2 separate regions of the Homo sapiens genome follow, and region 2 is linked to region 1. Evidence: promoter capture Hi-C in 16 types of primary human blood cells and fetal thymus (Javierre and others, 2016). All regions are on one chromosome and are shown on one strand. The core of a region is centred on a gene start or on the middle of the fragment in contact, and the rest is flanking DNA. Distances in the headings are between cores, read along the strand shown.

Region 1 (5,976 bases), core at 900-3,399:
TTATTTATTTAATGAATGTAAACCTTGCTGTTGACATATCCTAGTATGTTCTAATCAGGGTAATTAGCCCATGTGAAAGTTTAGACATATGGTGAGGATAAGGTAAACCCAAACCCATAAGAATGTTTTACTAGTTCATATAAAATACTAGGGTATGTCATCAATAAGCTGATTATTTATTTTTATTTTAAATAGAGTCTCCCTATATTGCCCCAGCTGGTCTTGAACCCTGGGCTCAAGTGATCCCCACGACCTTGGCCTCCCAAAGCTAGGATTACAGAAGTGAGCCACCGTGCCTGGCCTCAAGCTGATTATTTTGCAGGGATTTGAGGCATGTTGGGCAAAAAGGAGTCCTCCTTCTCCTCCTCTTCCTCTACCTCTTTCTTCTCTTCCTCTCCTTCAATGAGCTTTCAGGGTACCAAAAAGTAACCAAGAAAAATTATGGTAATTGGAGAGGAAAAAGATAATTACAAGAACAAGGAAATGCAAGCTGGTTTAACTAATATCTGATTCAGAGCTTCCCATGCGAACCCAAGTATTCAGCTTTCATTTCTAAAGAGATCATGTTCCCTCGATTGAAAAAATAAAAACAGACAAATTAAATATCTGTCTCTAAATATTCTCTAAATCTCTAAATTTTCTAAACTCTTATTTGTAATATTATAGTAGAAAAGTACCCAGTCTTATGTAAGAAACACAGATTAATTCAGCTTTACTCAAAATGTTGGTAAGTGTAATAAAAATAAGAGGTAAATTTGTCAGTGAGGTGGTGTTATATTAAAACACAAATCTACTACTCTTGCTTAGGTAGAACAGTCCCAGATTTGGCAACTAATAATAATGTGAGAATAAATAGAACAAGTGTAGAAAACAGACACTAGAGTTTACCTTCCCCTTAAAGCAATTTGGATTATGGCTTAAAGCATATATCATAACACATATGTTAAGAAATATCTTGTATGATACATATGTTTGCAATACCTATGTTAAATTTTAATCCATATGCTTTGCTAATAAAAATGCTAGTATTTACACATGATGGTATTGTGGATATAAAATGAGGGCTAAAATGGCTCAAGGATTTCCTTACATTTTATGTATGAGAGCTATGCATTTTGTTAATAATTCTTTTTAGTTTCCAATTTTCTAAAGTCTGAAATGACAGCTGAGGAGCTGCATTTGGTTTTCAAATGAATGATAGGTACCAAAGAGGATATGACTAAAATAGTGAGAGAGAAAGCATTAACACATATGGGATGTATGCTTTTTGCCTGAATAACACTACCTCTGTTTCAAGAAGTAGCACTTTAGATTGATATAGTCTATTATATATTTCTGTGGGCTGGAAACACAGATATTTTAATTTAACCTTAGAAAATTAAAGATTATGAATTTTTGTATGCCCACTTCTGGAAAGTAGGCAGATTTTTCTTGAAAATAGCAGGAATCTCATTAACTCCTTTTACTTAAAACCTGTAAGTGACTTCAAAATGTGCTCTTGAAATATAAATCTAGTCATAAAATATGCTCAGTGATAATGTTATTCATTCAAATAAATTAAGCCAAATAAAATCTCAAGAGCCCTCCTCTTCTTCCTCTTTTTACAACAATAAAGCTATACCCCACATTAAGACCATTAGAAAAACTCAAGAGGCAATTCCAAGGAGTTATCTGGCCCCTATGTTACCTCCACATGCAAGTTATAAGAATGAGAAATCTGAAAAGCTCAGCATATAAAATTTGATAACCTTTAGCTAAAATGGCTAAGAAACTTCAAAAGGCATACACTTTTGCCAAGCAAAAGTTTTCTCTTAAGTAGTTACTGGAAAGTTTATAAAAATTTCTCATCCTTAAAAAAAAATTAGAGAAGTCAAAATACCACAAAACAAAACAAAGGAAATATTTGGGGGAAAGAACTCACTTTGTCTTAAAGCCGCTTCTTCCTGTGATTTAAACAGTACGAAAGGAGAATATATGTTGATTATTTTTCCTCCAATCCACATGCATGTCAACTCCAAAAGGAACAGAAAGTCACCAGCACCATCTGAAGATCCCTTCCAACTGCATGCAGCTTTTTCAACTTTGCAGGAGAAAACAGAAGGGTCCCTGCATTTCCTCCAAGTCTTATACCGTGTACATGACTCCTACTGGGCTGAAAAAGCACTATTTGTCAATTTTTACTTAAAACTATGAGTAACAAATTCTCTGCAGGACATCCTTAAAGGGAAATTCTGCCAGGATTAGCATTCGAAGTATCTGGCTAAGCTCCAAAAAGTTTAAAATACACAATGTTCACACAGACGCATACACACTTGAGAAATTTCCACTAACTAGGCTAAATTAAGGGCATATTTATAAAAATAATACTCTAAAAGGATGATGTATTTTCTGTTTCCTCAATCTGTTTTTGGCTTTGTTTTCTTTGTTTTCTGGTGGTGATCAGAACCCTTCTTTTAGGTTAGAAATGTCTGAACCGCTGAGCTTTTCTTTTGGACATTGTCTCTTAGAATCTCCTTTTGAGGCCATCTGGAAAGGGATGAGGTCCCATGCTCTTACCTGCAAAATTATTGGTACCTTAAGAGATGGCCCCCTGGATTGTGGCCTCTATCTCTCCCTTCTTGGGAAATTGGGGAACTCTGAGACATAAGTTTGAGTAGAATACTCAAGGTAGTTCCCTGCTCTCTGGACTTGCAGTGTGGACTCAGCCTTCCCCGCTCTGCCTGCTTCCTGGTGAGCTGGCCACAATTGTGACATCACATCCATGGCTCTATGACTTCATAAAGCATAAACTCATTGAGTCTTTTGAAATCTTCAAAACACAAAAAGTGGACAGAGATGTCAAGAGTTGGATCTGAAGAAATTTTTGGATATTAAACCAATCCATAATAGGTATCCTCAGTGGGGCACACTGATTCATAAGGCAAGTGACATTTTCTCTTAGAATCTCCATTTGAGGCCATTTCTTCAGTTTGGAAGGCAGGATGAGAGAAGAAATTCTGCCTTAATCCCAGACCAAACTTAAACTGTCCTTGTTCTAACTGCTAAAGGAATGAAATGTTAATATCTTCTAAGGTCAAACTCGGGTATATACAGTCAAAGAACTTGAGCTAGAGAAATGCAGAGCCAGTTAACTGTATGTTTTGTTATTCACTTGACTTTAATGATTAAGACATTATGAAAATGAACATATGGCGACTAACAACAATAAATTTGGATTCAGCAAAAGGACACAAGTATATTTCATTAGTAATAGATTTTAATCCTTAGGACACCATTGCTAAACAGGTACTGCCTGTATTTTCCTTGTTTTATGGGCAAGGAAAGCAGTCCTTGAGATGTAAAAGTGCCTGGGACCATCACCCTCTTTATTTGCTCCCATGCTTCCTGAGAGGGTAATCTACATCCACCAAGTCATTCCAAACCTACTACATTCTGAGCCTTCTTCTCCCTCCCAACTTATTGCAATCTGTCTTTCACTTGAACCGCTCCAAAAAAGCTTCATTAAGATCATATACAACCTTGATTAGCAACCCAAAGAGTATGGTCTTCAGTCTTACCGAAAAATTCTCATCTCTGGCCATGTCTATTTCTTTCTGAAATTATCTTCCCTTGGTTTTGCTATGTTACACCCTTCTGATTTTCTGTTTGCTCTTAGCACCCTCACTTTCTCTCTATTCACCTCACTCTTCCCTAGAGCTTTATCTTCTGTTCAGTATGCTTCTCTGCAGACTTTCCATCACGTTCTTCATCAAAACAATGAACAATTTTATACAACATGACTCCCAAATGTGTACTTTCATCTGATACCACTCTTCAAGGTTCCAGACCTGTATCCCGCTATCTATTAGAAAACCTTGTCTAGGGGTCCCCAGCCATCTCAAACTCAACAGTCCCAAATATCCTTATTGTCTTCTCCCCATTCCAAACTTGTTAGTTTGCTGTATTTCCTACTTCAGGGAATGGCACAATCATCCACCCCTTATGTTAGAGTATTCCCTTTCCTCATTTATCCTCCACCATCCCCATCATTGTCCACCTTCTGTAGGTTCTAGTTTGTTAAATGATCTTTCTCAAATTTGTCCTCACCCCTGCATTCCATGTCTCACATGTCTCACTCAGATTATTCTGTCAGCCATAAAATAACTGGCATCTGCCTCAGCCTGATCCCTTTCTATCCTTCTCTATAGAAAAATATTATTTTTAAATAAGTTTGTTAAATTATAAAATACATGCTTCTTGCAGATAATCTGGAACAGAAACTGGAAAACATATACAGAAAATGTAAAATGTAAAATGATTTGCAATCCAAGACAGCCCAGACCAAATCTTTGTGTACCTCTTTAGGCTTTGTATCATTCATATATTAATGATACAGAGAAATGCTAAAATTTTTTGTAAATATATTGCATAACATAGTTATGCAGTATATTTAGTTAGAAAACCAAGACCACATTGTATATACTTGTAGAAAGTGCGAGATATTTTTCTTTTCCATTACTAGGTTTATGGTTGAGGCCCCTATAAAAAAAGGCAAATTAATAAAAGTATACAAATTATTTAATGTAAGTTTTTATGGGACATGGGAGCCTTTCAGAAATGAAGACTCAAAGCAAGAGATAAACGTGTGTATTTTTATGCTTAGATTTGATGAAGAGTGGATAGTCATGGAAAAGTATGACTGGACAAAGGGGATATAGTCTAATGATTATACACTCGGGGGAACTTAGCAAGGCCTGTTTGTTTAGACTCTTCTTTGTGTTCCTTTCTTCCAGGCATAGGGAGGTCTCTTGAATGAGGGTCTTATGACCTGCCTCGGGAGAGAAGGGTAAAGGGAAGGTGGGAATGATCTTCCTGCTTCTGGAGTTTTCTCAAACACCAAGGTGCCATATTTTAGCGTAGTGCATCCTGAACCCCATTATAAATCTGTATCCTTGTTTTCACTTAATATACTGTAATTTTCCAAGCCAATAAAATATTTTTTATTTTATTATTATACTTTAAGTTCTGGGGTACATGTGCACAACATACAGGTTTGTTACATATGTATACATGTGCCATGTTGGTTTGCTGCACCCATCAACTCATCATTTACATTAGATATTTCTCCTAATACTATCCCTCCCCCAGCCCCTCACCCTACAACAGGCCCCGGTGCGTGGTGTTCCCCTCCCTGTGTCCATGTGTTCTCATTGTTCAACTCCCATTTATCAGTAAGAACATGTGGTGTTTGGTTTTCTCTTCTTGTGTTACTTTGCTGAGAATGATGGTTTCCAGCTTCATCCATGTCCCTGCAAAGGACACAAACTCATCCTTTTTTATGGCTGCATAGTATTCCATGGTGTAGATGTGCCACATTTTCTTTATCCAGTCATTCACTGATGGACAAGCCAATAAAATATTTTTAAAGTGGCTATAACAAATAGTTGCTATGTAATAAAATACATAATGGAATAGCTCTCCTTTTTTTTCTCTCTTTTTTCAACACCAAAAGATACACTCAGCATTTAAAACATACAAATCACAGGACTGAGATTAAGACTGAAAAGAGGAAAGGAGAAAAATCTAGAACATTGACTTTAAGTACATTTACATTTATTAGGTTGTATTTAAACAACAATATGTTCTATGTGTCAAGTCTTCAAGTTCTTACCCAACTCTGAAGTCTGTATGATAGAATTAGGTTAAGGACTGCATTTTAGATGAGTAAAGACAGGCTCAGTAGTAAAACAGTTTGACAAAGCACTTTTACTTCTTTACATTGAGTAACACAAAACATGAGACAACCTTTGAGACTTTTGTCTTAGGTTGACTAGTCAGATCGCAGTTTTTCTTTGGCAGACTAGTATCTGAATAGACTATTTCAGAGCCAAGATTGGCCTGTTTCTGTGCAAGAGAAGGTGTCCATGTTCCTCTCTACTAGAGGCTGGGAAAAAAGACTCGTATACATTTTTTAGTCATTTTAATTCTCAGAAAAGG
Region 2 (6,818 bases), core at 1,170-3,669, 520 kb before region 1:
GAGTTGACTTGGAGTGGAAAGTTAGTAAAGGCTTCCCTGAGAAGCCGTTTGATGCTGAGAGTTGAAGGAAGAGCATCCTTTGTTCACTTGGCAAAGGGTGGGATGGGGATGTATATTAACAACATTTTATTTCTGTATTCTCCATGTTCTGGCATCTGGGGTTTCACTGACTGAGAATAGACTGCCCCTCCCAGGGCTAGCCAATTCTTTGAGAGAGCAAACGGCTTTCATATGCAAACTAACCAATCCAGAGCCCATACTCTAAATCACCTCCTCTATGTGGCTTCTACACTCCAGGAGGCAATAGTCCTCTGTCCCCATCATCCCAGGGCCAAGTACCAGACAACCAGAGCCAGCCCCTACACTCGTGAACCCATGGAAACTTTCAAACTAGCCAATCATAAGCCTGCTAACCCTGCTTTGCCCACTTCCTTCCTGCAGATACCACTATAAAGACTCTAGTCCACTTTTCCCCCCTCACTCCTTCTACCTCCTCACCAACCCTGGGGCTTCCCTATGCAGTCCTGGAGGTGTGGTCTGTGCCCTCTTATTGGAGCAGAAACAAATCATGTTTTCAATGGTAATTGTCTCCTGATCTGTTGGCCTCACCATAACTCAATAATAACAAAATCTACATTTTAAAACAGGATGATGGTAGGATTTCAGGGAGATGCTCCAAGCCAAAGAAGCAGCATGAGCAAAATTCCTATGGGATAGGAATTGTGTTTCCCTTGTTTCATCTGAATATCCTATACAGCACATCTCCCTTCCTCTCCATGTCACCGTCAATCACATTTCTCCATCTTATTTGTTTTAGAGCTTGTCACCACCTATAATTATCTTCAGCATTTATTTGCCTACTTGTTTATAATGTGCTTGTCTCCTCCCCTGATCCCCCAGTAAGCTCCATGGGAGGAAGGAGCTGCTGGTTTGTTCACCACTGTATCCCCAGAGCCTAGAACAATGCCAGGTACGTTCAAGCCACACTTGCTGAATGAAGAAACCATATCATCTTTTCAACTTCCCTGGGTCAGGTCAAATTGACCACCTCTTCCTGTGTACTTCTACTCTGCCCTCTGCAAATATGTCTAGCACATCACTTGTCACTGCAAGCACCCTTTAACTGCAGATCTATCTCCCTCTACCAAATCTAAGCTTCTCGGAAGCAAAGATTGTGTCTCATGCCTTGTGTGTCCCTGGTATCCAGTAGGGAGCAGATGCTTAATACATGTGTGTTTAATGAAAGAATACCCATGAGCTTTTTCTGTTTACTTATAATTAGGCAAAAACAGAATAGCCCATGTCTTTCCAATATGCCTATCCAATTCTGAACCTTGTCCAAATCAGGCCATTTTTCATATCTCACAGGCCTTCCTGATTGTCCCTTTCTCTTTCTGGCCTTCTGACACGTACACACAAAGGCAAAGCCAGTGGTCATCCTGTTTTCTGCGTGGGAAAATTGGTAATAATGACTAGAGTTGAAAGTGTTACTGAACAAGTATAATATAATCATTCTTCTGTGACAAAAAAATCAATCCACCCCAAATTTCTTTTACAGTCCAACAGAGAATTATTTCCTCTATCAATTGGCTACTTAGATCAAAAGATTTTAATATCTTTTCAAATGATACTTTTTCCTAATTACGAGATTGTCTCAGCTCTCCTGCATTCTGTGACTTAAAAATGTAAGTATCCAGGTAGCGGTAGTGGTTTTGAATGGAAATTACAGCTCAGCAACAAGAAACTCTCTTGAGTAAAAGAAAATCTTACTCTTTTTTTTTTCTAAAAAGGTTTCATTTCTGTCACACTGCTTCTCACTTGAAATTTAGTTTCTATTCAGAATTATGGTGCATACATTGTTGTTCTTTAGGGAATATTTTTAAATAGTATTTATTTTCCTTTGGTTTAGGGCTATTTGGCTTCTCTTATTCCTTCTATTTGTTTCTCATAGTGTGAATGACAAGTTAAATAAGAGAAGAGGAGCCATAAAATGTGTCCTCAATACCACACTAGCTATGGAATAAACACCAGTTTTTCAAGTTCAATAATTTTTAAACTTTATATATTCCCCAAACTCAGTCTTTCTGTGTGGCCTCTTTCCCTAATTGGTTCCTTCAATGGTTATTCCCCAGATTAACTACCAAATACGGTAGGGGTAAAAATATGGGAAAGGCAAATATTGTTTTATTTTGGTTTATATTCAAGTGTAGTTACATTTGCAAGGCAATTATCGAGCAGTTAGGACATGAATGGGAGGAAGGAGGGCAGTTTGAGGACAGTGTTGATCCTGTGGCCTTTCAGCCCACCCTTCCCAAGCCAGTGAAGGCAGCAAGAGAAGGAGGAGTCTTGGCCTCGGTGATGTCCCCTGGTGGGTCTCATCTGCAGCAGAGTGGCCATGGCCTTTGCGGTGTCTCTCAATATCTCAATTATGCAGGAACTACTAATAAATGACCAAAGTTCATACAAGAAGTACTTTGTTTATAATTTAGAGTAGATTTAAGCCTATGAAATAATGCCACCCAGACTCACTTGTATTCTACTATACCTTCTTGAATGAGAGAAAAACATGCAGCCTTATGCCTAGAGTCTGCATATTTACCACACATAACCCACAGCCTAGCTTAGGGATGTCACGCTCAAGAGCTGTGTCTTGTGTGCCAATGATGATACAAGCTGAGAATCATCTGAATTTCTGAAACATAGTCTTAGTTTTGGCTACCGCCGTGGCTCCCTGGCTTGTCAATAACCCCTTGCCCATCCACACTGCAGTTTAATCATGCCTCTGACACAGAAATTATACACATTATGCATAATTATATGATATCTGTTTGTGGGGTAGATAATGGAGTTAGTCTACAGTGGATGCAGTCATCTTAAAAATAGGTGTTTTGACATTCTTAAAACTAGATGAGGCACCCTTCAAAACAAAGCCTTAAAAACACCTATTTCTCTTGCTGTCTCATCTAGTTCTGAGAATGCCACTGACGTGTGAAAGAAAAATAAGCATCATGTACTATCACTATAGAAAACTATGACTTGGGTTAAAGATAATAAACTCCTCTCAAGGTTAAAACAAGAGTAATTTCATTTTGATTTCCCAAGTTTTCCCCCTCTAAGATGTCCAAATTGAATAGGATTACAGATTTTTCCGGGTAATAACACTCAACAGATGTGGCTATTTTAACAATGCTTTGTTTCATCAATGTAATTATAATCTTTCATTTCCAATTATTGATGCACTTCACTTAGACAACTCTCCTTCGAAATGTCACCTAAATTACCCCATGTCGATACTTTACTATAGATAAAGATAGGCAGGAGACATAGTGGTTCTATGCCCATGATGTAGTAGCATACATGAAGTTCTTATATAAAATGTTGATTTTATATCACAATTTGAAAATTTCTCTAAATGAAAGGCCATCCTTGGCTCTGTAAGTCAAGAAATTCTCTTTTTAAAACCACTCCCAAATCTATTCCAAACAGCCTGAGAAACCACTCTACATAAAAATCAGTATGGTTTGATTTTTAACAATGTTAAGTCAAAGTGAAATTTAAAAATTGTATCAGCTGCTTATAAGGACCAAGTAGCAAGTAGGATACGGTAAGTATAAGGCTCTTTATCACTGAATGAATTCTAATGCCTCCCACTTCAAGTTTCCTATCACATACACATAAGCTTGTCACTAAGCTATTCATGCATGTAGCTTATCTTCAAACTATTAAAAATGTACCTAGTAAACTAGTAAAAAGTAGATTTCGCATCGTATGCTTTTTGTATTCTGCACAATGTCAATCATAATGTCTTTCTCATAGATTGCAACAGAGAAGTATTTGTTGGATCAAGAATGAAAAAAAAGCAAACAGTTGTGAGGCACATCTATGACTTTACATGAAAAGAGGAAATAATAGCTTGGTTATAGATACAACTTAACAGTTGGGCAAAATAAACAGCTCTCCCACAATTAACTGAGAAAAGTGTTCTTAAGTACTTAATCTGAGCTTCAGAAAGTCCCTTGCGATGCTATCTAGGTACTGGGTTTTTCATACAATTGGGAAATAAAATGGAATGCCCTCTTGTGGTGCCAGATACATGAGGCCTGACTTCCACAGTGAATCTTGGGTCTCCTTGTTTTCTATATGTTAGATTTTTCCCCCTTTCCCCAGAATGTTGAAAAAGAAGCTTACTTCTCTTGGTTTTTAGTGATGATCAGAAAAAGATAAATGTGCAAACTGTTTGCCAAAAAAAAAAATCAGACATTATCAAATGAATTCACATTAATTTTCCTTTATACCATAAGCAGAACTTTGAGACTCTTTTGTCACAAATGATTATTATTTGTGAAAGATTTAAAGACATCGTTTGCTTCAGTAGACTTTAAAAAGCTTGTGAGAAAGGGGAAGTTCTGTAATATAAATGCCCTTCCCTTCTGCGGGACAACCCAGATCAGATTCCATCTCCAGGGAAAGGCAGGCCACTCCAGCTTGGAGGACTTTCCCTCCTCTGACTTTTAATTGCACTTGCTATTTGTATCATTTGTTTGACTCTTCTCTCTCCAGCTGTGCATAAAGGTGCAGATAGTATCTTTAGTTCTTTAGATCTTCCTCTCTGTCTTCAGAAAGTGGCTACCTAGCAAGTTTTGATTGATATACAGTGGGTAGGCAAGAAAAAATGCCACATCTTTAAAATTTCAAATTTTATTGCTTTTATTTCTTAGTTTATGGCAAAAACATAGATTTTCCTGCTCCTCTAAAAATATTTAAATATTTTACAATGTAAATAATTTATTAAATATTAATACATTTATTTAATATTTAAATAAAGGTACGTGCCTAGAAATGTTAGCTACACTGGAGATAAATATGGCAACCTAAAAAGATGGGAAAAAGCTATTTCCTGAACTTTTCAGAACTGTGTGCTACTTTTAGCATACGTATGCACCATGAGGTGCATTGCCATCTTAGTCTTCATGATTTAGAAATATTATAAGTACACCTAATTGTGCATATTTACTTAGGTTCCTAATTTCATAGTTTCCCTGTCTCCTTCACTGGGTGGTAAACTGCGGGAACAAGGCACTGGTGGTGTCTTTAGTTTAGAGCTGTAGGAAAAACACATGATTTGGAGCTGACCCATCTGGATGGCCTCAGGAAGTGGTTAATCTTTTCAAGTCTAATTTTCTCATCTAAAAATTGCGAAAAGTGACACTGCATTCCAGATCTGTGATAAGGATTCTCAAAAGTGCAGATAAAGTACCTTCTACATAGTAGATGCTCAACATACAGTAGCTATCATTACTCCCTTTTACAAATGCTGTTAACAGTACTTAAACTATAGCTTTGCATAGTCCATACTCACTGAGCGGGTAAAGGGAAGAAAACACTGAATGTCTAATATGGACATTGTTTTTCTATGAGTGTCAGCAAAAACCATAGCTGTCATTTCTTTTGTACTCAAAAAATACTTCACTGGAGATAAGCAGGGAGAACAGATAGAGACATTATACTGGACCATAAGCAAGTATGTATTACTATAATATACTCTGGTTCTCAAGCTCTATATTACTCATAGCAGAAAAGGCACATGGAGAAATCTACGGATGGGGGAGCTGCATTTCTTTATGACCTTATTTGAAAGATAAACTCCTTGGGGAAATACAATTTATTCAGATTATCAAGACCCCGCTGTGCAAATCTACAGTCTGGGAGCACACTATGGAGATCAAAAAATATTTACTTTATTCTGTTGGGTATAAAAGCTTTTAATGAATGCATAATTAAGACAAAAAAGTGTATACGGCTTTAGAAATTCCACTGCTGAGCCAAGCCATTAATATCCAAGGCACCATACCCAGTTGTGATTCCACCTGTTTCCTATTTTGATTACAACTGAGTTATAAATCAAGGTATTATGTGACTACCTAACCTGGTGCTGCAGGAAAGGTTGGTACTCCAGGAGTAGAGAAAGCAACATAAAGGGGGCTGGTGTGGATGTGCGGTAAGGTCTGGCCTTTGGAACAGGTTGAAACAAACCAATAAATAAACAAAATCCAAACCTTTTAATAGCCTTGGGATCAGTTATATAGGAAAGAAGTTATCATGTTTATTGTGCATGTGAAGGGCTCTGTGAATTTTCTCAACATTGTCATAGAGTTGATAGGATAAAGTCTAATTGTTATAGAAGAAAAAATGAGCAATTCATTGACAATGCAGGCCAGATAACTTGTAATATGATAAAATAATCAAACTCAGATATGTTTATATGTATAAACATACAGAGAGATATAGGCATATTTTGTATATAAATATGTAAATATGTATGGACAACTGTATGTAATGATATATTCAAACATTGATATGCATATGTATATGATACAATTTGATTAAATGAAAACAAAGTATTAGCAGCAATTCAAAAGTACAAGGAAAACTCCAGCATGCTCTAATTTTTGGAGTCTTGCAAGGCCTATTTAAATACATTTGTGCTGTGTAACAGAGGAATTCTACAATTAGGTTACTAGTACATTTTCATAATCAATTGTATGCATAATACCCAAGGCTCATGAATAATTTTATATTGTTCCTTGGGAAATTCTCTAGTAAGCTGGAAATCTAGTAGGGAGGAAGTGAAACATAGCCGTCAACAATAACTAATAATTCTGGCCCCAGTCACTACGTGCTGCAAAATGCTGTTTCAAAGTTCACTAAACCTGACTCAGCACGTAAGGAGATTGCCAATGAATATGGAATATATATAAGAAATTAATATATATATATATTTTCTTTTAATTGAAAATAGTTTATCTGAGCAACTAGGG

The links. Contacts are between HindIII fragments. The CHiCAGO score rates a contact against its expected background, and 5 or more counts as called.
Region 2: a contact is called between a fragment that was not itself captured here and the fragment with the promoter of FHL5 in region 1, in 2 of 17 cell types (naive CD4 T cells and activated CD4 T cells). The highest score is 6.7, in naive CD4 T cells.

The regions. Positions count from the first base shown.
Region 1 is chr6:96,559,301-96,565,276 of GRCh38, reverse strand. FHL5 (four and a half LIM domains 5) reads right to left here and starts at 2,149. Exons shown (of 6, transcript NM_001322466.2): 1 at 1,922-2,149. The HindIII fragment of the contact is 3,763 bases long and covers 1-3,498 here.
Region 2 is chr6:97,074,829-97,081,646 of GRCh38, reverse strand. All of the region lies in intron 5 of KLHL32 (kelch like family member 32), which reads right to left. Among named protein-coding and RNA genes, the nearest start is that of KLHL32, 150 kb to the right of the region's middle. The HindIII fragment of the contact is 2,524 bases long and covers 1,158-3,681 here.